Regions from separate parts of the Homo sapiens genome. Here all the other regions are linked to region 4. Evidence: promoter capture Hi-C in human tissues and cell types (Jung and others, 2019). All regions are on one chromosome and are shown on one strand. Each heading gives the region's core, a stretch centred on a gene start or on the middle of the fragment in contact. The rest is flanking DNA. Distances are from core to core; before and after follow the strand shown.

Evidence for each region. The method cuts DNA at HindIII sites, captures the fragments that hold promoters and counts their contacts. A contact is called where the count stands out against the background at its distance.
Region 1: a contact is called between a fragment that was not itself captured here and the fragment with the promoter of ITIH3 in region 4, in 5 of the 25 tissues and cell types used here (bladder, lymphoblastoid cells, mesenchymal stem cells and 2 more).
Region 2: the fragment with the promoter of SFMBT1 here is called in contact with the fragment with the promoter of ITIH3 in region 4 in 1 of the 25 tissues and cell types used here (spleen).
Region 3: a fragment that was not itself captured here is called in contact with the fragment with the promoter of ITIH3 in region 4 in 2 of the 25 tissues and cell types used here (spleen and thymus).
Region 5: a fragment that was not itself captured here is called in contact with the fragment with the promoter of ITIH3 in region 4 in 2 of the 25 tissues and cell types used here (adrenal gland and spleen).
Region 6: a fragment that was not itself captured here is called in contact with the fragment with the promoter of ITIH3 in region 4 in 2 of the 25 tissues and cell types used here (liver and spleen).

What each region holds. Positions count from the first base shown.
Region 1 is chr3:52,985,682-52,989,175 of GRCh38, forward strand. The region is part of intron 1 of SFMBT1 (Scm like with four mbt domains 1); the gene reads right to left. Among named protein-coding and RNA genes, the nearest start is that of SFMBT1, 59 kb to the right of the region's middle. The HindIII fragment of the contact is 4,868 bases long and covers 1-3,494 here.
Region 2 is chr3:53,044,360-53,047,710 of GRCh38, forward strand. It overlaps SFMBT1 (Scm like with four mbt domains 1), which reads right to left and starts at 1,714. Exons shown (of 21, transcript NM_016329.4): 1 at 1,457-1,714. RefSeq lists silencers at 753-1,042, 1,403-1,462, 1,563-1,882, 1,933-2,042 and enhancers at 2,030-2,531, 2,532-3,031. The HindIII fragment of the contact is 17,124 bases long and covers 321-3,351 here.
Region 3 is chr3:52,651,714-52,655,005 of GRCh38, forward strand. It overlaps PBRM1 (polybromo 1), which reads right to left. Exons shown (of 32, transcript NM_001405607.1): 7 at 29-97. Among named protein-coding and RNA genes, the nearest start is that of PBRM1, 33 kb to the right of the region's middle. The HindIII fragment of the contact is 3,551 bases long and covers 123-3,292 here.
Region 4 is chr3:52,792,914-52,796,238 of GRCh38, forward strand. ITIH3 (inter-alpha-trypsin inhibitor heavy chain 3) reads left to right here and starts at 1,883. Exons shown (of 22, transcript NM_002217.4): 1 at 1,883-1,983; 2 at 2,690-2,710. The coding sequence starts at 1,891. RefSeq lists an enhancer at 1,481-2,370. The HindIII fragment of the contact is 27,249 bases long and covers 1-3,325 here.
Region 5 is chr3:52,935,368-52,938,668 of GRCh38, forward strand. The region is part of intron 4 of SFMBT1 (Scm like with four mbt domains 1); the gene reads right to left. Among named protein-coding and RNA genes, the nearest start is that of STIMATE-MUSTN1, 39 kb to the left of the region's middle. The HindIII fragment of the contact is 6,743 bases long and covers 1-3,301 here.
Region 6 is chr3:53,026,164-53,029,515 of GRCh38, forward strand. All of the region lies in intron 1 of SFMBT1 (Scm like with four mbt domains 1), which reads right to left. Among named protein-coding and RNA genes, the nearest start is that of SFMBT1, 18 kb to the right of the region's middle. The HindIII fragment of the contact is 5,578 bases long and covers 1-3,352 here.

The sequences.
Region 1 (3,494 bases), core at 405-2,904, 190 kb after region 4:
TACTTACGCAAACCTAGATGGTGCGGCCTACTATACACCTAGGCTATACGGTGTAGCCTATTGCCCCTAGGCTACAAACCTGTAGGCAACTGTAACACAATGGTAAGTATTTGTGTATCTAAACATATTTAAACATAGGAAAGGTGTAGTCAAAATATATCATAAAAGATAAAAAATGAGGCCAGGCGAGGTGGCTCACGCCTGTAATCCCAGCACTTTGGGAGGCCAAGGTGGGCAGATCATTTGAGGTGAAGAGTTTGAGACCAGCCTGGCCAACATGGTGAAACCCCGTCTCTACTAAAAATACAAAAATTAGCTCGGTGTGGTAGTGGGCGCCTGTAGTCCCAGCTACTCAGGAGGCTGAGGCAGGAGAATTGCTTGAACCTGGGAGGTGGAGGTTGCAGTGAGCTGAGATCATGCCACTACACTTCAGCCTGGGAGACAGAGTGAGACTCCGTCTCAGGAAAAAAAAAAAAAAAAAGATAAAAAATGGAACACTTATATAGGGCACTTATCATGAATGGAGCTTGCAGGACTGGGAAGTTGTTCTGGGTGAGTCAGTCAGTGGTGAGTGAATGTGAAGGCCTGGGATATTACTGTATACTACTGTAGACTTTCTAAACACTGCACATGTAAGCCACATTAAATTTGTTTTAAGAATACTTTTCTTCCTTCCATAATAAATTAACCTTAGCTTACTGTAACTTTATAAACTTTTTGATTTTTAAAATTTTTTTGACTTTCTTGTAATAACACATAGCTTAAAATACAAACACTGTATAGCTGTACAAAAATATTTTTTTGGTCGGGCGCCATGGCTCACGTCTGTAATCCAATACTTTGGGAAGCCGAGGTGGGCAGGTGACCTGAGATCAGGAGTTTGAGACCAGCCTGGCCAACATGGCAAAATCCCATCTCTACTAAAAATACAAAAAAAAAACTTAGTCGGGCAGGCATGGTGGCAGGTGCCTGTAGTCCCAGCTACTCGGGAGGTTGAGGCAGGGAAATCGCTTTAACCTGGGAGGTGGAGGTTGCAGTGAACCGAGATCGCGCCACTGCACTTTAGCCTGGTGACAGAGCAAGACTCTGTCTCAAAAAAAAAAAAAAAATTAGCAGGGTGTGGTGGCGAGTGCCTGTAATACCAGCTACTCAGGAGGCTGAGGCAGGAGAATCGCTTGAACCCGGGAGGTGGAGGTTGCAGTGAGCCGAGATCGTGCCACTGCTCTCCAGTCTGGGCGAAAGAGTGAGACTCCATCTCAAAATATATATATTTTTTCTTTATATCCTTATTCTATAACTTTTTTCTATTAACTTTTTATTTACTTGTTAAAACTTTTTGTTAAAAACTAACACAACAGCCTAGGACTACACACGACCAGGATCATCAATATCGTTGTCTTCCACCTCCACATCCTGTCCCACTGGAAGATCTTCGGGAGCAATAACATGCATGGAGCTGCCATCTCCTTGATAACAGTGCCTCCTTCTGGAATACCTCCTGAAGGACCTGTCTGAGGCTGGCTTACAGTTAATTTTTTTTTAATAAATAAAAGGCATATACTCTAAAATAATGATTTAAAAGTACAGTAAATAAACCACAGTTATATATTATGATCAAGTATTATGTACTGTACATAACTGTATGTGTTATGCTTTTATACAACTGCCAGTGCAGGTTTATTTACACCAGTACCACAACAAACACGAGTAGGTATCTCACTATGACTTTAGGATGGCTACTACATCATCATTAGGCCATAGGAATTTTTCATCTCCATTATAACTGTATGGGACCACCGTCATATATACAGGCCACCATTGACTGAAACACCATCATGCCATGCATGACTGTAGATAGGAAGCAGCAGGGGCAGCATTTGAACCCTCATCTGATCCCAAGCCTGAGCTCCTTAGTGTTTCTGGGCTCTGGGGCTTTTCTTGGAGCTCAGAGAATACAAGGATAATTGTGAGGTATGTCTTATACCATAGAGTGATGGCCCTAGATGATCTGCGCTCAAGTTGTTTTATTCATTCATTCATTTAACTTCTAAGTTCCATACTGTTCTGCTTAGAATGGTGAGTAACCAAGAGTCTGGATGGCACCTAGACAGATGCTGCCATCTATAAGCTTCTAAAATCTTATTCTAGTAGGGCCCTAAAACAGATTAATTCATATGAAAGGATACAGTACACATTTTTAAATTAAAACACATTTCCTTATTAATTCTTTAATGGAATGGAATAACACTGAATTAAGAATGGAATAACACTGAATTTAGCCAAAAGGCTAAAAAAATCAGTGTAATAAACAGCCATCATCAAAAATGTCAGAATCATCAGGAAAGCATAAAAAACAAAGTCTTTCCCCAACGGAGTAACAGGCTCTGCCTCAACCCAGAAGAGAGCTGAGGGGAAGTTATAGTGGTTGACTTAGAGAGACCCTTGGGAGGTCCAATCACTCACCAAACTTTAACTCGTGATTATAAGAGAGGATGCTCTGGGGATTTTGCTGCTTTGTATTGTTACATTAAACATACAAGCATTTTTAAAAGCTCTATGTTAGAATTTAAAGATGCCTAGACTATAGACACATATGCTGTACAATTAATTCACTGGAATTTTTTTTAAGTTTAAGGCCCTATAAGAACTAGATTATCAGTTATAAATATTGAGAACTTTTGGATAGGCTACCACCCCTCAAAAATCACGACAGGCAACCATACAGGTCAGTCCCTCAAGAACACCTCAAGAACCTGTCCCTCAAGAACGCCTCCCAACTCCAGGGTAATGCTGCTGCGAGGGTATCCTCGGGGAAACACAATGGTGAATGTCTGCTGCAAAACACTGAGCCAATACCTAAGAGGCATGCTGAACATTTAACAACAATGATACTAGGAACAAGTATTAGTTATTTAGAAAAAGTATAAATTATTTAGAACACAAAACAACTCTTCAGGAGCTTTTAAAGTAAGTGCTTCCAAAAAAGGAGTAAATCTCTGGTTACTACTAGAGATGTACTACGTAACACATTAAATCTGTAAAATAATTTGGCACAAAAAGTTAAATGGACATGAGGAAAAAAACCAGCCTAGGTTATGATAATTAATTAGGAATCTAAACAGACTTATATGCAAGATGTAAAACCAAAACCCTAACTGGCAGAATAGCAGTCTACTTACTTACCTGTTATTTCCAAAGCGCAGCAGGACACTTGGCAGCCTTCTGTTTGGTTAGTATTAGACCCTAGTCACACCTTAATAGTTGTTTTTATAGATTTCAGTACCCCCACACCTTTCAATCTAACATATGTAAACATTCTCTGAAAACCAAAAGTATCTAATGTTAAATATATAGAAATTTTTGGTTAAATCTCTACACCTGTTAAACAGAAAGATTCCTCTTCCTGATTTCTTTTCTCCACTTTTCTATTCTTTCCTTAAAAATAATTTGGTTTCTTTCCTACCACTAAATTATTATTTTGTGAACTTAAATGC
Region 2 (3,351 bases), core at 464-2,963, 250 kb after region 4:
AAATGTGCCCAAGATAAGGCAGTTAGTCAATGACAACGGTAATAACAGAACTGTTTCCTGATCTCTGGCCGTTTCTACCAGGCCGTAACTTTTCTGACATCGCAAACAAATCTTAACTCCGAATCTACCTACGGCCTAATTCAACAAATGCCTCAAAACGCTAGTCAACAGGCCTCAAAGTGTACACATGAAGACACATCTTCCTTCATCCTCTCGCCAGTTGACAAATTAATGATTACACGTTCAGGCATTTTACCCAGATGCAATAAAATTAAGAATGACATCTTAGAAAATGTGGTTCAAGAGAAGACATACGCAGGGATTGACAAAATCCATCTTACTTCCTTTCGAATCTCTTTGATGGTTACTTGGTTCTCAAACACAGATCACTGCTAACAGGACTCAAAAACACCACTTGGGACCATCAACCAGTGCTGCTTCGGGCGACCCGCTGGGAACACCCCCACCTGACCCAAGCGTCCACCACTCCTTGAGCACAAGCTCTGGGGGTGACCTGTGCCTGCCGGCTTAGTTTTAGACCCTACGGGAACAGCTGACATCTTGTGAAAAACTTAGCATAACGTACATCCTTTCCGCGGGAATTTATTTCTGTTCGCACAAGGCGTTTCTGCTCCGCACAGAGCAGGCCTTGCTTCCCAGGACGCCGCTCGCCCCTCCACAGCCTCCTTTTCAGCGTCCAAAATCGGACTTTAGGAACAGAAATCGAAACGGTCGCGGACCTCCCGAGCGGCAGGTCGGGGCGCTGCCGGGTCGGCGCGGGGTCCAGCGGCGGTGCCCGGCGGGCCGCGGCGCGGGAGAGGCCCGCTCACTTCACAACGGCGGCCCGGAGCCACCGGTTGCGGCGGCCACTAGACGCTCCGCCACCGCGCAGCGACCGCCCGGGCCCTCCGAAGTTCCGACCGGCCGCGCGCCCGGCCCCAGCTGCGGGTTCGCGCCCCGCCCGGAGCGAGCCCGGGGGGCGGGTCCGCGGGGGCTCGGCGGGCGGAGCGCGGGGCGCGCGCGGGGAGGGGCGCGCGGCGGGCCCGGCGCGCCGGGGAACTTGGGCGCCCGCCACTGCCGCCGCCCGGCCACTTTCCTTTCACGCCTCCCGCGGGCTGACGCGCGCCGCGCTGCCTGCCAGGGGCTGACGGCCGCCGCCGCTCTCCGCCGCGGCGAGGCGCCCAGGCGCGCCCCTGCAGCCGGCCGGCCGGCGCGCGGGACCGCGGGGCCGCGCGCGGGCGCCGCGCTCCCCCCGCCCCGCCCCCGCCCCCAACGTGCCGCCGCCGCCGCCCGTTGGCGCCTCAGCCCGCGCGCCCGCCGGCGCCCGGCGGTTTCCCGTTGGCAAAGTTGCGCGGCCGCTTCGAAGGGGACGCCGTACGGTCCCCCGCCCCGGCGCCGCCGCCGCCCCTCCAGGCCGCCGCGCGGGAAGGCCCAGCCGGTGGCCCCGCTTTTTTACCTGCCCGGAGTTTTCGCGCGCGCGCTCGCTCGATCGCTCGCTTTTCCCCCTCTCGCGCTCGTTTTCTTTCTTTCTTTCCGTCTTTTCGCTCCCCCGCGCGGAAGCTTTTTCCTCCCGTGCTGCCCGCGCTCGCCCGCTCGCGCCCTCCTTCCTGCTGGGTTCGGCGGAGCGGGGCGGCCGGCAGCTCTCCCCGCCCCCCTCCACCCGCGCTCCGGCGGAGGCGGCGGCGGCGCTCCGCGCTCCGACTCATTCCAATATGGCACGGACGCAGGGCGCATGCGCCCGCGCCCCCCCACCCCCAGCTCCGCGGTCCTCCAGGCAGCCTGCGCCCCTCGCGCCGCGCCCGTGGAGCTCCCGGGCCCGGCTGCCCCGCTCCCGCCCCAGCGCCATCCCTCCTGGCTGGGGCCGCGCGGGAGGCAAGGACTCCGCGGGCTGGTGTGCCGGGGGTCCGGCGCCGCGGGCCACCCACGCCCCCAGCCAGCAACTCGGCGCGGACGGCCCCGAGGCCGTGGCGCAGGACACGCGGCGGCGCCTCGGGCCCCCGACGGCGCTGTGGCCCCGAGCGGAACGGCCCGGAAGAGGAGACGCGTCCCCGGGAACCCAGTGCCCGCCCTGGCCCAGCCCCGATCCAGCCTGCGCCTCACCTCGGGTTGTAGACAGAGCGGCGGGGATCCCAGAGGGGTTCGCGGGTCGGACCTGGAGTACCGGCCCGGCGAAGCGCGCCGCTGTCGCCCGCACGTGACTGGCTCGGACAAGATGGCATGAGCGGAGAAGCGGCCGGATCCCAGATGCGCGCGTGCCGCCGCCGCGGGCACTGCGCCCGTTTGCCTGCCCCTCGTCGGGGATCGGGCGCTCCCTCTGAGACCTGAAAGGGCACCCAAGTGCCCCCTGTCTGCGAAGTCCGGCGCGGGCCCTTCGGCGCCCCCGATGTCTCTAGGCTTCCGCAGGAGGCGCCCTGTAAATCTTGAGTCTTCCTGCAGCGAGGGGGCACAGGACAGCTGCGAATTGGGACGAACGAGCCCAGAGCCCCGGGAAGGATCAGAACCTCGAAGGCGGCTTCAAGTCGGCCCCGCAGCCCGAGGTGACCGTGGGCGGTTACGTTGCCCGAGCTCGCCCCCTCCTCCTGAGCGCAGGTGCCCGTGGGACATACACCCGCCCACCTGCTCCGGAAAGTTCCCTCCAGAAGGGAGTTCCCGCGCCACCGAGACCCGGGAGCTCCCGATCAGACTCCCAGGCCGTGAAAGGCGTTATCGGACAGGGCCCAGAGGCGCCCCCACAGCAAGAAGAAAGTCTGGGGTTCTCACCGTGTGCCAGGTGCGAGCTCAAGCCACCTCCCTCAACCGCTCTGAGAAATATCCCACTTCACAAACTTGCTCAAAGTCACGCTGCTGGCTGGATTTGAATCCAGATTTTTTTTAGCACCACTGAAAAAACAATATGACAACCGGAGAAAGAAAAATCTAAAAAGAATACAGTAATCCATATTGTTACAAAGAAATGCAACTTTTCACGACATGAAACATATATATACTGTGTATAGTTGCAACCACACTTTTTTTGTTACTACTTTCACTACCATTTTTATTTGTTCACGATTCATTTTTAAGGTGTGCAGGTGTCCTTAACTATTCACTCAGCCCCCTAATGTTTTTGGTTCTTTACGGTTGTTTGCTAACGTATCCTTGAATTCTGCACTTGGGACAAATACCTGGGAGTGGAAAGGCTCCCAGGTAGAAGGCTATGAATGGCCAAGTGGTCTTGGCTTACAGCGTCATATTTTTCCCAAGAGCTGCCCCAATTATTCTACCGCCTCCAAGGAACAAGTGTAAGGAGTTTAACACACTTATAAACATTGAGTGCCATTTCCCCCCTACTTTAATAGTCTATTGCTAGTT
Region 3 (3,292 bases), core at 648-3,147, 140 kb before region 4:
AATCATTTACTTATGGTCATCTTCATACCTGTATCCTCTGGGCAATGGTCTTGAGATCTATAGGCTCCTTAATTATTGCATAATAATCTGGATATTGCTGGAAGACAAAAAACCAGGCATGCTCAATAAGTTAAACTATTCAGCTAATGAAAAGAGAAGGAAGTACATTGACAATCTGTTGTTCAAACAACCAGTGAAGCAGCTTTGTGAGATTCAAGACTAAAGACATGGCTGTACAGCACATTTATTATATCAGAACCATAAAGAATTTAATCTTAAGAAGCTTCATGATCTATCCAACAGCATGACTTAGGAGTTAAAACTTGGTATTTTGAGTGTTATTATGCAACTAGCATAAAATTTAATGTTTTAAAAAATTCTAGGCTGGGGCCGGGTGCGGTAGCTCACGCCTGCAATCCCAGCACTTTGGGAGGCCGAGGCAGGTGGATCACCTGAGGTCAGGAGTTCAAGACCAGCCTGGCCAACATGGTGAAACCCCATCTCTACTAAAAATACAAAAATTAGCCGGGCGTGGTGGCAGGCACCTGTAATCCCAGCTACTCAGGAGGCTGAGGCAAGAGGATCGCTTGAACCTGGGAGGCAGAGATTGCAGTGAGCTGAGATCGTGCCATTATACTCCAGCCTGGGGGACAAGAAAGAGACTTCGTCTCAAAAAAAAAAAAAAAAATTCTAGGCAGGGCACGGTGGCTCACACCTGTAATCCCAGAACTTTGGGAGGCCGAGGCGGGTGGTTCACGAGGTCAGGAGATTGAGACCATCCTGGCTAACGTGGTGAAACCCTGTCTCTACTAAAAATAGAAAAAAAATTGGCTGGGCATGGTGGCATACAACTATAGTCCCAGCTACTCTGGAGGCTGAGGGAGGAGAATCGCTTGAACCCAAGAGGCAGAGGTTGCAGCGAGCCGAGATCATGCCACTGCACTCCAGCCTGGGCGGCACAGCAAGACTCCATCTCAAAAAAAAAATAAATAATCTAAATTCGGCAAGGCGCGGTGGCTCACACCTGTAATCCCAGCACTTCGGGATGCTGAGGCAGCTGGATCACTTGAGGTCAGAAGTTCAAGACCAACCTGGCCAACATAGCGAAACCCTGTCTCCATTAAAAATACAAAAATTAGCCAGGCATGGTGGTGTGCGCCTGTAATCCCAGCTACTCAGGAGGCTAAGGCAGGGCAATCACTTGAGCGCAGGAGATGGAGGTTGCAGTGAGCCGAGATCACGCCATTGTACTCCAGCCTGTGCAACAGAGCAAGATTCCGTCTCAAAAAACAAACAAAAATTCTAAATTCACAGAATTATACAATTTTTCATTTAAGGTCCCAAGATATCTATGCCTAGAAATAAAGTAGAAGAAATGCTCTTTAGGAGTTTGTTACAAGCTCTTTTAATTTTGCAATCTAAATAACGTTATTATATAATATTCACATAAACTTTCATAAGGATCTGTAAGAAGTCAGGTTGCAAAATTTGTTAGCTTCATGTTTAACTTGATGCTTCTGCTTATTTCAGTCAAAGTAAGTTTTTTCAAAACAAAATACCTTTTGAATGAAACTTTGTTAAAGAAATGAAGCACGGCTGGGCATGGTGGCTCGCGCCTGTAATCCCAGCACTTTGGGAGGCTGAGGTGGGTGGATCACCTGAAGTCAGGAGTTCGAGACTAGCCTGGCCAACATGGTGAAACCCCATCTCTACTAAAAATTCAAAATTAGCCTGGTATGTTGGTGCATGCATGTAATCCCAGCTACTTGGGAGGCTGAGGCAGGAGAATCGCTTGAACCTGGGAGGTGGAGGTTGCAGTGAGCTGAGATTGCTCCATTGCACTCCAGCCTGGGCAAGAAGAGCAGAATTCTGTCTCAAAAAAAAAAAAAAGAAAGAAAGAAATGAAGCAAAATTCTGGTCAGGCATGGTGGCTCATGCCTGTAATCCCTGCACTTCGGGAGGCCGAGACGGGCAGATCACGAGGTCAGGAGTTCAAGACCAGCCTGGCCAATATGGTGAAACCCCGTCTCTACTAAAAATACAAAAATTAGCTGGGTGTGGTGGCGGGTGCCTGTAATTCCAGCTACTCAGGAGGCTGAGGCAGGAGAATCGCTTGAACCTGGGAGGCAGAGGTTGCAGTGGGCTGAGATCACGCCACTGCACTCCAGCCTGGGTGACAGAGCAAGACTGTCTTGAAAAAAGAAAAGAAATGAAGCAAAATTATTAGCAACTTCTGATTTATCAAATACTAGGTCATCCCAAGAAATTGAACATGTTGAGGAATGTCCTTGAAGCTTTCACAACAACCTAGAATCACTCACTGCACTCAGGCTTTCCTACAGATTTTCTTCCTTGGAGGAAATAACTGAAGTTGCCCAAATATCAAAAGTTGGTCTTATCAGATGGGAGAGGTTCAGGGGAAGTCAGATTGTGCTCTCCCAACTCTTCCCACCTGTTCAAACCCTACTGAAGCCCACGCAGCAACAACAAAAGCAGAAAGCCACAGCCTTCACTCAGTTACTGGGCTGAACAGATTATCTCAGTGTTGTTTTATCTCATCTGTCCCCTAAGCTTACCACTACTTTCTTAACCCTACTCCTTCCTTTACTTGGATGAATCTCCATTGCTGCCCCTTCTCTTCACCAGTTCTACTTCTGAGAGAAAGTTCAGAGGACAAATTATGGCAAGGCCACCCAGCATGGAGTACAAAGTAATTCAAAGTCATCCAATCCCACAAATTCCCAATCTATCTCTCCCATGCAGCCAGCTTGCTTGGGACGGACTTACTAAGGAAAGGTGAAAACTGTCCTGCCCCTTCAGCTGTCAATCCTTGTTGTCTTTCAAACTGTCACACCCTGAGAGACCAATAGAAACCTGCTTTTCCCAACCAGCTCCTTCAAGGTGACCTTGAAGGGGGAATGGGGGGAACTAATTATTGATGTTTCATTGCCCCATATCACTGTTGTTGATTTGACCATCACTGATTATCTCCTGCAGGGTAAGAATAAATCTTGAGCGAAGACAGTACTTCTATTTTGTGTGTATGTGTGCATGTGTGAATGAGAGTTGACAGAGAGCGAGAGAGAGAAAAAGAGACGGGGTCTCTTTCTGTTGCCTAGGTTGGAGTGAAGTGGCATGATCACAGCTCACTGCGGCCTTGAACTCCTAGGCTCAAGTGATCCTCCAAACTCAGCCCCACCAAACAGCTGTGACTACAGGTGCACACCACCATGACTAGCTAATTAAAAAAATTTTTTTTGTAGAGACAGAGTCTCAGCTATGTTGGCCTCTC
Region 4 (3,325 bases), core at 633-3,132:
CAAACTCCAGGCACTTGGGGATGAGGCAGTGGTCCAGATGAGAGAGTACAGGAGAAGCTCTGCAGGCAGCTGCAGGTCCGTGAGGAGGAGCCATTGGGCAACAGTGCCAGCCACCCAGTGCCAGCAGCCACAGGACTGAAAACATCCCAGAAGCCAGGAAATGAGGACACGGCAGCTCTGAGGGGTCTTCTCTCCACACCCAGGCGCCAGCACCTGCTGGGTTTGGCCTCCATCAGGCCCGAGCTTGGTGCCTGCTGCCAGTGAGGTTGGTGTAAGGGTTCAGGAGGCCCGAGGGAAACAGGCACCGCCCAGCCAGACACCAAGCACAGGCAGCATCTGCCACTTGGCCATCATTTCACTGGCTTGGAAACTCCCTCTTTTCAATTTTTTTTTTTTTTTTTGAGACGGGGGTCTCGCCCTGTCATCCGGGCTGGAGCGCAGTGGCACGAACACAGCGCTCACTGCAGCCTCGAACTCCTGGGCCCAGGTGATCCTCCAGCTTCAGTCTCCCAAAAAGCTGGGATTACAGGCAAGAGCCATAGTGCCTGGCTGATTTGGCAACTCTCCATCATTGCTCTGTGGCTGCTGCCTCTTCCAGCCATTAGACCACACCCTCCTCAGGGCTTCCGCTGCCCCGTGGCATCTGCCTTTTGCCTTCTTGGTTCCTCTGCTCCCAACAACTCTCTCTGCACATCTCCCAGTCAGCACCAGAGCTTTCAGCTGAGGCCGCTGAACTCCCCATAAGTTAGTTGTCCTGGACCCAGCCGTCCTTGTCGACTCCATTCAGTAGTGGGCTGCCCAGTGGGAGGGTCACAGGGTCAGCTTGGCTCAGAGAAGCCATGGGTATGGTGGGTGTGCAACAGCTGCCCTGATGGGGCTAGGCTGGCAGGGTCCTGAGGTGGCTCAGGAGGTCCCAGCCCCCACTGAGACCAGGTCCTGCCTCTAAAGCTCCTGTTGTCCTGGAAGCTGGAGCCCAGCCTCACTACGACTTTTAGGGCAATGACTCCCCAAAAGGCTGAGGGCAGCCAAGTCCCTGGCTGGGCCCTGGAAGCACAGAGGGAAACATGACATGGTCCAGCCCCCAGGAGCTCTGGGTGCAGAGGGGGCAGGCAGACCTGAGCACATCCACCTCAACATAAGGTCATGACAAAGCAGGCCCTCAGGGGGCTTGGGGCTTGGAGCAGGGATGTCCCATAGTCCTCTAGGGGATGGCCAGGGAAGGGTCCTGGAGGGGAGGCACTGGGACTGGCAGAGAGATGAAAGATGTGACATGTGCAGAAGGGGAGGGTGTGCTGGTGCAAGAGAGTGAGCTCAGAAAAACAAGCTGGGGTCAGATCACAGAGACAGCTGGGCTTCCGGGATCGTTGTGTGTCCTTTCCCTGGGGCTTTGGGGGCCATAGAAGGGTAGTGAGCGAGGGGCTCTGCTGTGGAGGTCCCAGCCTGAAGGTGACAGTCTAGTTTCACGCCCTGGCTGCCTCAAGAAGGGAGGGGCTGCAATCCAGGAGGCCAGAGAGAGGCTGTCCCAGTGGTAGGGATAAGAGGCAACAATGCTGAGATGCCCTTTGCCCTAAATGCAACTCCACACCCCATCTCCATCATCCACGCCAGGGAGTCCCAGGGTCCATTTGTTGGCCCACAGCTTCTGCTTTCCTGCGGGCCTCTTCCGAGTCCCCCGGTCTCTCAGGAATGAAGCCCCAACGCTGTTGGCAAGACCCACCAGGCCTTCTTCAGACAGACACATCGAGGGACCCGTCATTCCACCCATGCCCAGCTTCCCGGAGGCCCTTCCTGCCTCCACTCCTCCCACCCCCGCTGCAGGTCACTGACCCTGCTTGGAAAACACCAGGCTTGCTCATATAAGGAGCGTGGGCCAGGCCTGAGTATTCAGCGATGGCATTTGCATGGTGGCCCTGTCTCATCTTGGCTCTGCTCTCCAGCTTGGCAGCCTCTGGCTTCCCGAGAAGCCCCTTTCGGCTGCTTGGGGTGAGTCTGCCCCCTCTTTGCCATCTGGGTCTTGGTGTGGAATGGGCAGAAGGCATCATGCTGGGCAAGGCCTCTGAGTGGAGTGAAGAGGAGGCAGAGGGCTGGGCACTGAGCTGCTGGGAGTAGTGTGGACACTGGGAGAACCGGGCTCCAGCTGAGGCCTATGCTAACCTGTTGTCTAACCCTGGGAAGGCTCTTAAAACTCCCTGGGCCTCAGCTTCCCCACCTGTCAAAAGAGCAATGCACCAGGAACTGCTCACTTCACTGAGGGGCAATGAAGGTTCAAGTCTCAAACGAGTGTGACCTCTACAAAATGCTCAGTTGAGCCCTGCGGGGTGTGGCGGGGGCAGGGGTGCTCTGGAAGGAGGCCTAAAGGGGCCTGGGGGCCAGGGAAAGGCAGAATGGGAGATAGAATGAGGTGGGGCATGTAGGGTGTGAAGAGAGCTCTGGGTTCAGTTCCCCCTGCCCTGCTCTCCTGGTAACCTGGATACCTGCCCCTCTCTGGACCTCAGTTTCCCCATCTATTCAGAGTTTTTCCTACTCTGACATGTGGCTCTGGAGGGTCCTATGTCTGGGGGCCACTCAGGTGTGTGGGGGGCAGGGCACCACTGAACCCCTGGTCTCAGCCCAGAGCCTCCCAGGCCATGCGGCCTTGGTGTTGGCCTTGGCCTGATTCCTGTGTTTGTGTTTGTTTTTGTTTTTTCAGAAACGGAGCCTCCCGGAAGGGGTAAGAACTTTCACCAGGGGGTGGGACCGAGTGGGGCAGGGCAGGATGGAGCTGGTTCCCCAACTGCTGAAGGTGTAGGCTATAACAGCTGACTCCTCACAGCTGGCAAACAGCTTACGGCCCTCTGCCCTGGCAGCCTCCAACAGCGCAGGACTCCTGGGAAAGAGCACCACAGAGTGACGACCCCTCCAACCTCGCAGGATGTAGCCCAAGAGGGCCCCTCACAGGCATCCCTTCCTTCCGCAGACACTTCCTTAGCACTTGCTGGTACCTGGCTCTGTGAAGCGGTCCCTGCCACACCCTCACGAAGCATCTTTATATCCCTAGGGGGAGGGGGCTGGAACACCTCCCTAGAGCCTCTCAAAATTCAACACCCCTATTGGAAAGAGGGTGTTTGGAGACTTCCCTTGGCACAGGAAATCAGTTCCTCTTTGGGAGACAGAATGAGGCAATTACCTAAAGACCCAGGAGGTGGGCTGGGCTGTGTGCTTGAGGGAGTGTGAGGTGTGGAGGATGAGCAGGAAGAGCCAGGGGCAGATGCTCCAGAGCCAGTGTCCCACGCATAGCTGGAGCTCAGGGTGACTGGACGGGAAAGGGCAAGCTCTCACTGGCTGC
Region 5 (3,301 bases), core at 599-3,098, 140 kb after region 4:
CCATACCCATTTGTTTACATATTGTCTGTGGCTGCTTTCACACTACAAAGGTAGGGTTTTAGCAGCTTTGACAGAGATTGTATGACTAGTAAAGCCTAAAATATTTACTATCTTGCCCTTTACAGATAATTTGCCAATGCCTGGCTTATACCCTCACACTCCACCCATGCCCAACCAAGGATCAGTTAGAAGACAATTCCAGATAGCATATAATTTCATCCATATATATATTTTAGTACATATTTCTAAAAGAAAATATTTTCTTACAAAACCACAATAACAACATCATACCTTTAAAAAATTAACAATAATTCCTTAATATCAAATATCCAGTCTATGTTCAAACTTCCCCAATTGTCTCATAAACAGTTTTGTCAATTTGTTTGATTACATCAGGACCCAAGTGAGACGCACGCATTGCAAATGTCTCCTTGATTTCTTTTCATCAGTAGGTTTCTTCTCCTTCCTCCCCTCCCGTGTCCCTACTCTCTCTTTTTTTACTCCACATTTATTGAGACCTGGCCTTTGTTCTCTATGGAGTTTTTTAGAGTCTGATTTCATTGGTTACGTCCCTGTGGTGACCAGTTGTTCTACTGTTCCCTGTATTTGCCATAAATCAGTATTTAGAGCTAGAAGCTTGATCAAATTCAGGTTAGACTTTGCGGGGTGGTGAGGGTGAAAGAATACTTCACAAGTGGAATAAGTTATACCCTTCCCTCAAGAGCATGAAGAGGCACATATGGTCTGGCTGTCTCTCCCTTTGTGACATTAGCAGCTTTTAACGGTTACTACATAGATGCACTGATTCATTACGGGCTCAATGGTGATATTCTAATTGTATTATTCCTTCTTCATTTACTAACCAAAGAACTTCCATAAAGAAAAATTTCTCTACATCAACTATTTGATTATGCTGAGGTAGATTTCATAGAAAGAAGGCTTTCTTTGAACATATACTTGATTGTCTTTACTCTTTCTCTATATTTACCACCCTTTAAAATAAACAGTTGATTGGCAGGCATCTTCCAAGAGTGGCTAATGAGGGTTTTGTTTCAAAATTTCACTATGAAGTCATACATTAAAACAAATACATTTCAAGCCATTACAGCTGTTGTCCTTACGACACTCTATCTTCAACCAGAGGCAGTCTCTTCAGGTTGGCTCCTGAGACCTTTTGGCATGACACTAGTAAAGAGCCACTGATAACTTTTTTGCTTTTTGGTATGACAAGATGTTCCAGGATCATCTAGGAAATTGCCTGACCTAGTGCAGGACTCAGCTACTTCTGCAAGAAGCCCCAGTTTATTTCCATGGAAATGGTATTTAGAGACCTGGGCATGCTCATTGTCACTGGGTTAGTGTTTCTCGGCCTTTTCAGTGTCTAGAGTTAATGCATTTCTTCTTCTTCTTACATCACAATACTTCCAATACAAATTCAGAAAGATAGTGCTTTCATTTAACTCATCCATCTAAGCTCTATTTCCTTTCTATAACGCTGAAAATCCTAGTTCTCAATTACACATTTCTTTTTTTTTTTTTTTTTTGAGACAGAGTCTTGCTCTGTCCCAGGTTCACGCCATTCTCCTGCCTCAGCCTCCTGAGTAGCTGGGACTACAGGCGCCCGCCACCATGCTTGGCTAATTGTTTGTATTTTTAGCAGAGACGGGGTTTCACCATGTTAGCCAGGATGGTCTCGATCTCCTGACCTTGTGATCCGCCTGCCTCAGCCTCCCAAAGTGCTGGGATTACAGGGGTGAGCCACCACGCCCGGCCACACATTTCATTCTTTATTTGCTTTTGCCTACCATATACAAACAACTATTTCAAAGTAACAACATTAAGTCTACCACCAACAGTAGGATTACTAAAAATAGGTTAAGATTTTTTCTTTGCATTTTTTTTTGTTATTGTTGTCCTTAGAATATATAACCCTAACTGGGGACATACTTTCATATTTTACTGTATTTTTAAGTCACTGAAATAGCTCCTCTTTGTGTGGTTATCCCATAAGCTCCATATACAGTTAGGTTTCCTTGATTTTTAGGAATTGCTTTCTAAACATTTAATTTTGCTTTCTAGTTGCATAAAATATTTACAAGGTTCAAAAGTCAAATCTACAAAATAAAATAAGGTACATTCATAAAATTTAGCTTCTATTCCTACCTCCTTCATTCTTTTCCCTTCTTTCCCCATAGGTAACTTTTTTCTAAATGATTCATTCTTTTTTTTTTTTGAGACGGAGTCTTGCTCTGTTGCCCAGGCTGGAGTGCAGTGGCACGATCTCAGCTCACGGCAACCTCCGCCTCCCGGGTCCAAGTGGTTCTTCTACCTCAGCCTCCTGAGTAGCTGGGATTACTGGCACACACCACTACGGTTGGCTAATTTTTGTATTTTTCGTAGAGATGGGGTTTCACCATGTTGGCCAGGATGGTCTTGATCTCCTAACCTCGTGATCCACCCGCCTCGGCCTCCCAAAGTGCTGGGATTACAGGAGTGAGCCACTGCGCCTGGCCAACGATTTACTCTTTTATTTTGAAAAAAATAAGTTCACACACACACATTTGTATCATCATATCCTTGAGCTCTCCTCCTCCTCAAGTCTGTACACATTTTTCTTTTTTTCATACAATAACATATCCTGAGCCCACTCCTTGGTTGTATGCAGACCCTCCTCCTTTTTATTGCTGTCTATAGCTGCTTTTCTTACAAAGTATCCTTTGTCAGCTATCAAGACTGACAGCTGGTTTCTTTTCTACTGGCAGTTGCCTGTACATCTTTGTCCTTTTATTTTTACTTTTTCGTAGTCTCTCTGCTTAGGTATGTCTCCTATACAGAGGACAAGAGTGGATTTTGCTTTATGAGGCAATCTGAATTTATTTGTTTACTTCTAATAAAAGAGTATGCCCAGTAACACTTATTGATATTATTAATATGCATGGCCTAAATTTCATATTGTTAAATGTTATATACTTCGTGTATATGTAGTTTTTTTTACTATGTGATCTATCCCGTTTACACATATAGTTTCTCTTTCTAAGTCTCTTTCGTCATATAGAAAGGTTCTTATTTTTGTTCTACGGATTACCTTTATATAACACTTTTAGTCCTCTCTATTTTTGGACTACTTTCTATTTTGTTGTTGTTGTTTCTATAAACAATACTGAAGTTAGCTATAAGCCCTTCGTTTTCTCTCCTTCAGCATCTCATTTCAGGTACTATCCTTTTACTCCCAGTTAACATTTAAATAGTTATATTACATGGCAATAAAGCTGTTTTTTTTTTTAAGACAATTAGTGGGCTT
Region 6 (3,352 bases), core at 527-3,026, 230 kb after region 4:
GCCACAGTAATGCTTATGTCTCAAGTAACAGCTTACAAGTATCAACAGTAAAGTAATAAGCTGTAATAAAAAGGCACTTCATCTCTTCAAAACCTGCTATCCCACCAAAATTCTCCAGTAAGTTAACATGAACTAAATTTTTGGTCCCTTTCCTAGCATTCTACCAAAATCAGTTTAATTTTTAAAATAATAAAAATATTTTATTGTACTAGAAAGGAAAGATTCTAAAAACACACAAAACCATAAGTCAAGACAGCAAACGACTCACACGTAGCCACTCAGTGAGGACAGTAAGTCTTCCTTAGCAATTAAAGAGCAAATAGAGGAACTCAACAGAGAATACAAAGTAAAAAGGCTGAGGCCCTTTAAGGATAGCTGGAATTCCTACCAAGCTGCATGTTCATGGCCACAAGTTAACAGAGTTTACCCTCCCTCCCTGTGCCCCCACAGCTGCTCACTGCAGTTACAGGTAGGTCCCTGTGGGGCTGCCTACAGTCCTAGATATAACAGCCCAGAGATCTGTGTGGTTGGTTCTTAGCCGCACTCTCAAAAAGGAAGAGCTGGCAAGAACCTCAACAAAATTAAATAATAGCTTAAGAAGGAGGCAGCGCTAAAGATAAAGGTTTGAGAAGGGATTTTTTTTCTTCCTTTAGAGACAGGGTTTTGCCCTGTCCCTGGAGAGGCTGGAGTAAGATGGTGCAATCACGGCTTACTGCAGCCTCGACCTCCTGGGTTCAGCCTCCCAAGTAGCTAAGACTACACAATCGTGCCACCGCACCTGGCTAATTTTTCAATTTTTTGTAGAGATGGGGTCTCGCTAGGTTGCCCAGGCTGGTCTCAAACTCCTCGTCTCAACTAATCCTCCCTCCTTGGCCTCCCAAAGTGCTAGGATTATAGGCATGACCCACCATGCCCAACAGGGAAGGGAATTCAAAAGAAAATTTCAGGGTTACTTTCTTATTTTACACTAGATGTTTCCTCTATTAAGACCTGAAATTTTTAGCTTATTAAAAATTCTTACACTAATAATACAATATAGAAGTATTCACAAATCACTAACTCACTGCCATTTACTCCTACAAAAAATCCTTTCTCAAAACAAAACTCTACAAATGTTAGCCCATTCCCCCACCCCCGTTAAAACACCTTCCATAGTAGACGCTTTACACTTTTTTGACAACACTTAAACACAAGTTCTGTATCATTTCCTATCCTGATTATAAGCTTCTCTAGGCCAGGGAACTTACTCAATTTTGCATTCCCTAAACCCCTGGCACCACTGCTTCATGTCACAGCTACTTAGTGTCTGCTAAATGAATTACTATGGTATCAGATCATGGCACCTCCAGTTCACTAATGAGAAAATTCAACTTTTTAACACAGCAATAACATTTCTGCCTCCAGGAATACTGTCATTTTCACAGGAGAAGGAAATTCAGTGATTCAGTGCCTACCATCTGCCCCAGAGGTCAGCTATTTCTGACAAGTCCTAGTGTGCACATGGGCCAATCAGGCTGCAGCTGCCTTTTTTCACAGGCATGGATGGAAGAATGAGAAAGGTCACTAAAGCAGAGTCCGTATGTAAATTCGTTAGGCATCATCCACAGGAAATTTGCTTCCTCTTAAAATCCTGTGAAATTAAAACATGCCTTTAAGCCATTGTTTCTTCCCCCTGTTCTTTAACCCATTTATGCTGGAGGTTGCAAATTTTTTTGTGTGAAAACTCAGACCTTGGTGATGACCTTGAGCACTATGATATAAATAACTCCCACAAGCTTAGCGTTCCAGTAATGGAACAGTAGGCATAAATGGGTTAAACTTTGGATAGTCCAACTTGCCAGGTTACCCCATTGTTTACAAAGCCTTTCACAGTACAAAAAACTTGATTAACCCTAATTGCCTGCTGACGTCTACGGTTGTTTCTTTTTCTCAGACCACTCTTTTTGAGACAGGGTCTTGCTCTGTCATCCAGGGTGGAGTGCAGTGGCTCGAACACAGCTCACTTGGAGGCAGATTCAAGTGATCTTCCTGCCTCAACCACCTGAGTAGCTGAGACTACAGGTGCACACCACCACACTCAACTAATTTTTGTATTTTTTGTAGAGACAGGGTTTTGTCATGTTGCCCATGCTGGTCTCGAACTCCTGGGCTCAAGCAATCCACCTGCCTTGGCCTCCCAAAATGCTGGGATTACAGGCATGAGCCACCATGCCTCGCTTTCAGACCACTTCTTGAAGTCACCTTAGTTCCATAAAACTTGTGTGTTGACATACAGTGTGATACTGTTTCTTTGCCACAAATTCAACTCTACAAGTCACATCTCTTTGTCTGCCTTCATGGGTCAAAACTACTTACTAGCTGGGCATGGTGGCACATGCTTGTACCACTAGTCCCAGCTACTCGGGAGGCTGAGATGGGAAAACAGCTTGAGTCCAGGAGTTGGAGGCTGTAATGTGCTATCATGATCATACCTGTGTATGGTCACTGCATTCCAGTCTGGGTGACATAGCAAGACCCCATCTTAAAAAAAAATTACCTGCTAGAACACAGAATAAATGGCAGAAAGAAGGCCATAGCAGAGCAAACACAACTCAGAAACGCCCAGTCTAGCACTCGTGGCTGGGAACCCTTGCAGGGAAGTGCACAAGTACTCTCAGAGGGGACCTGCCTGCCTGTCACTGGCTTGGTGTGAACACTCTCTGAGCAAGTCACAAGAGTTATGGGCTAGGCCGGGCGCGGTAGCTCATGCCTATAATCCCAGCACTTTGGGAGGCCAAGACAGGCAGATCACAAGGTCAGGAGCTTGAGAAGATCCTGACTAACACGGTGAAACCCCGTCTCTTCTAAAAATACAAAAAAATTAGCCAGGCATGGTGGCGGGCGCCTGTAGTCCCAGCTACTCGGGAGGCTGAGGCAGGAGAATGGCATGAACCCGGGAGGCGGAGCTTGCAGTGAGCCGAGATGCACCACTGCACTCCAGCCTGGGCGACAGAGCGAGACTCCGTCTCAAAAAAAAAAAAAAAAAAAAAAAGTCATGGGCTAGAAATGTACTACCATGGGGGAGAAAAAGAATAGACTACCACAAATTGTCACACTTTTTAGGAAAATATTTTACAGAAAATGGCAGTATGCAGAGCGTTATTGAAGGGTTATAAATATATTCTCTGAGGGGTATTCTGAAGTTCTTTTAATGAAGGATAATAACTAAGAGCTTGGGCTACAAAGGCATATACAACACTGTAAGATTCAACTACAGAATGCTTCAAGATTCCAAACTCAGTTTCTTTAGAAATTCTGCGCCAGAACAGGAGCAGCATTTTTAAAATTCCTTACCAAGTAGCCCAGGTAAAAA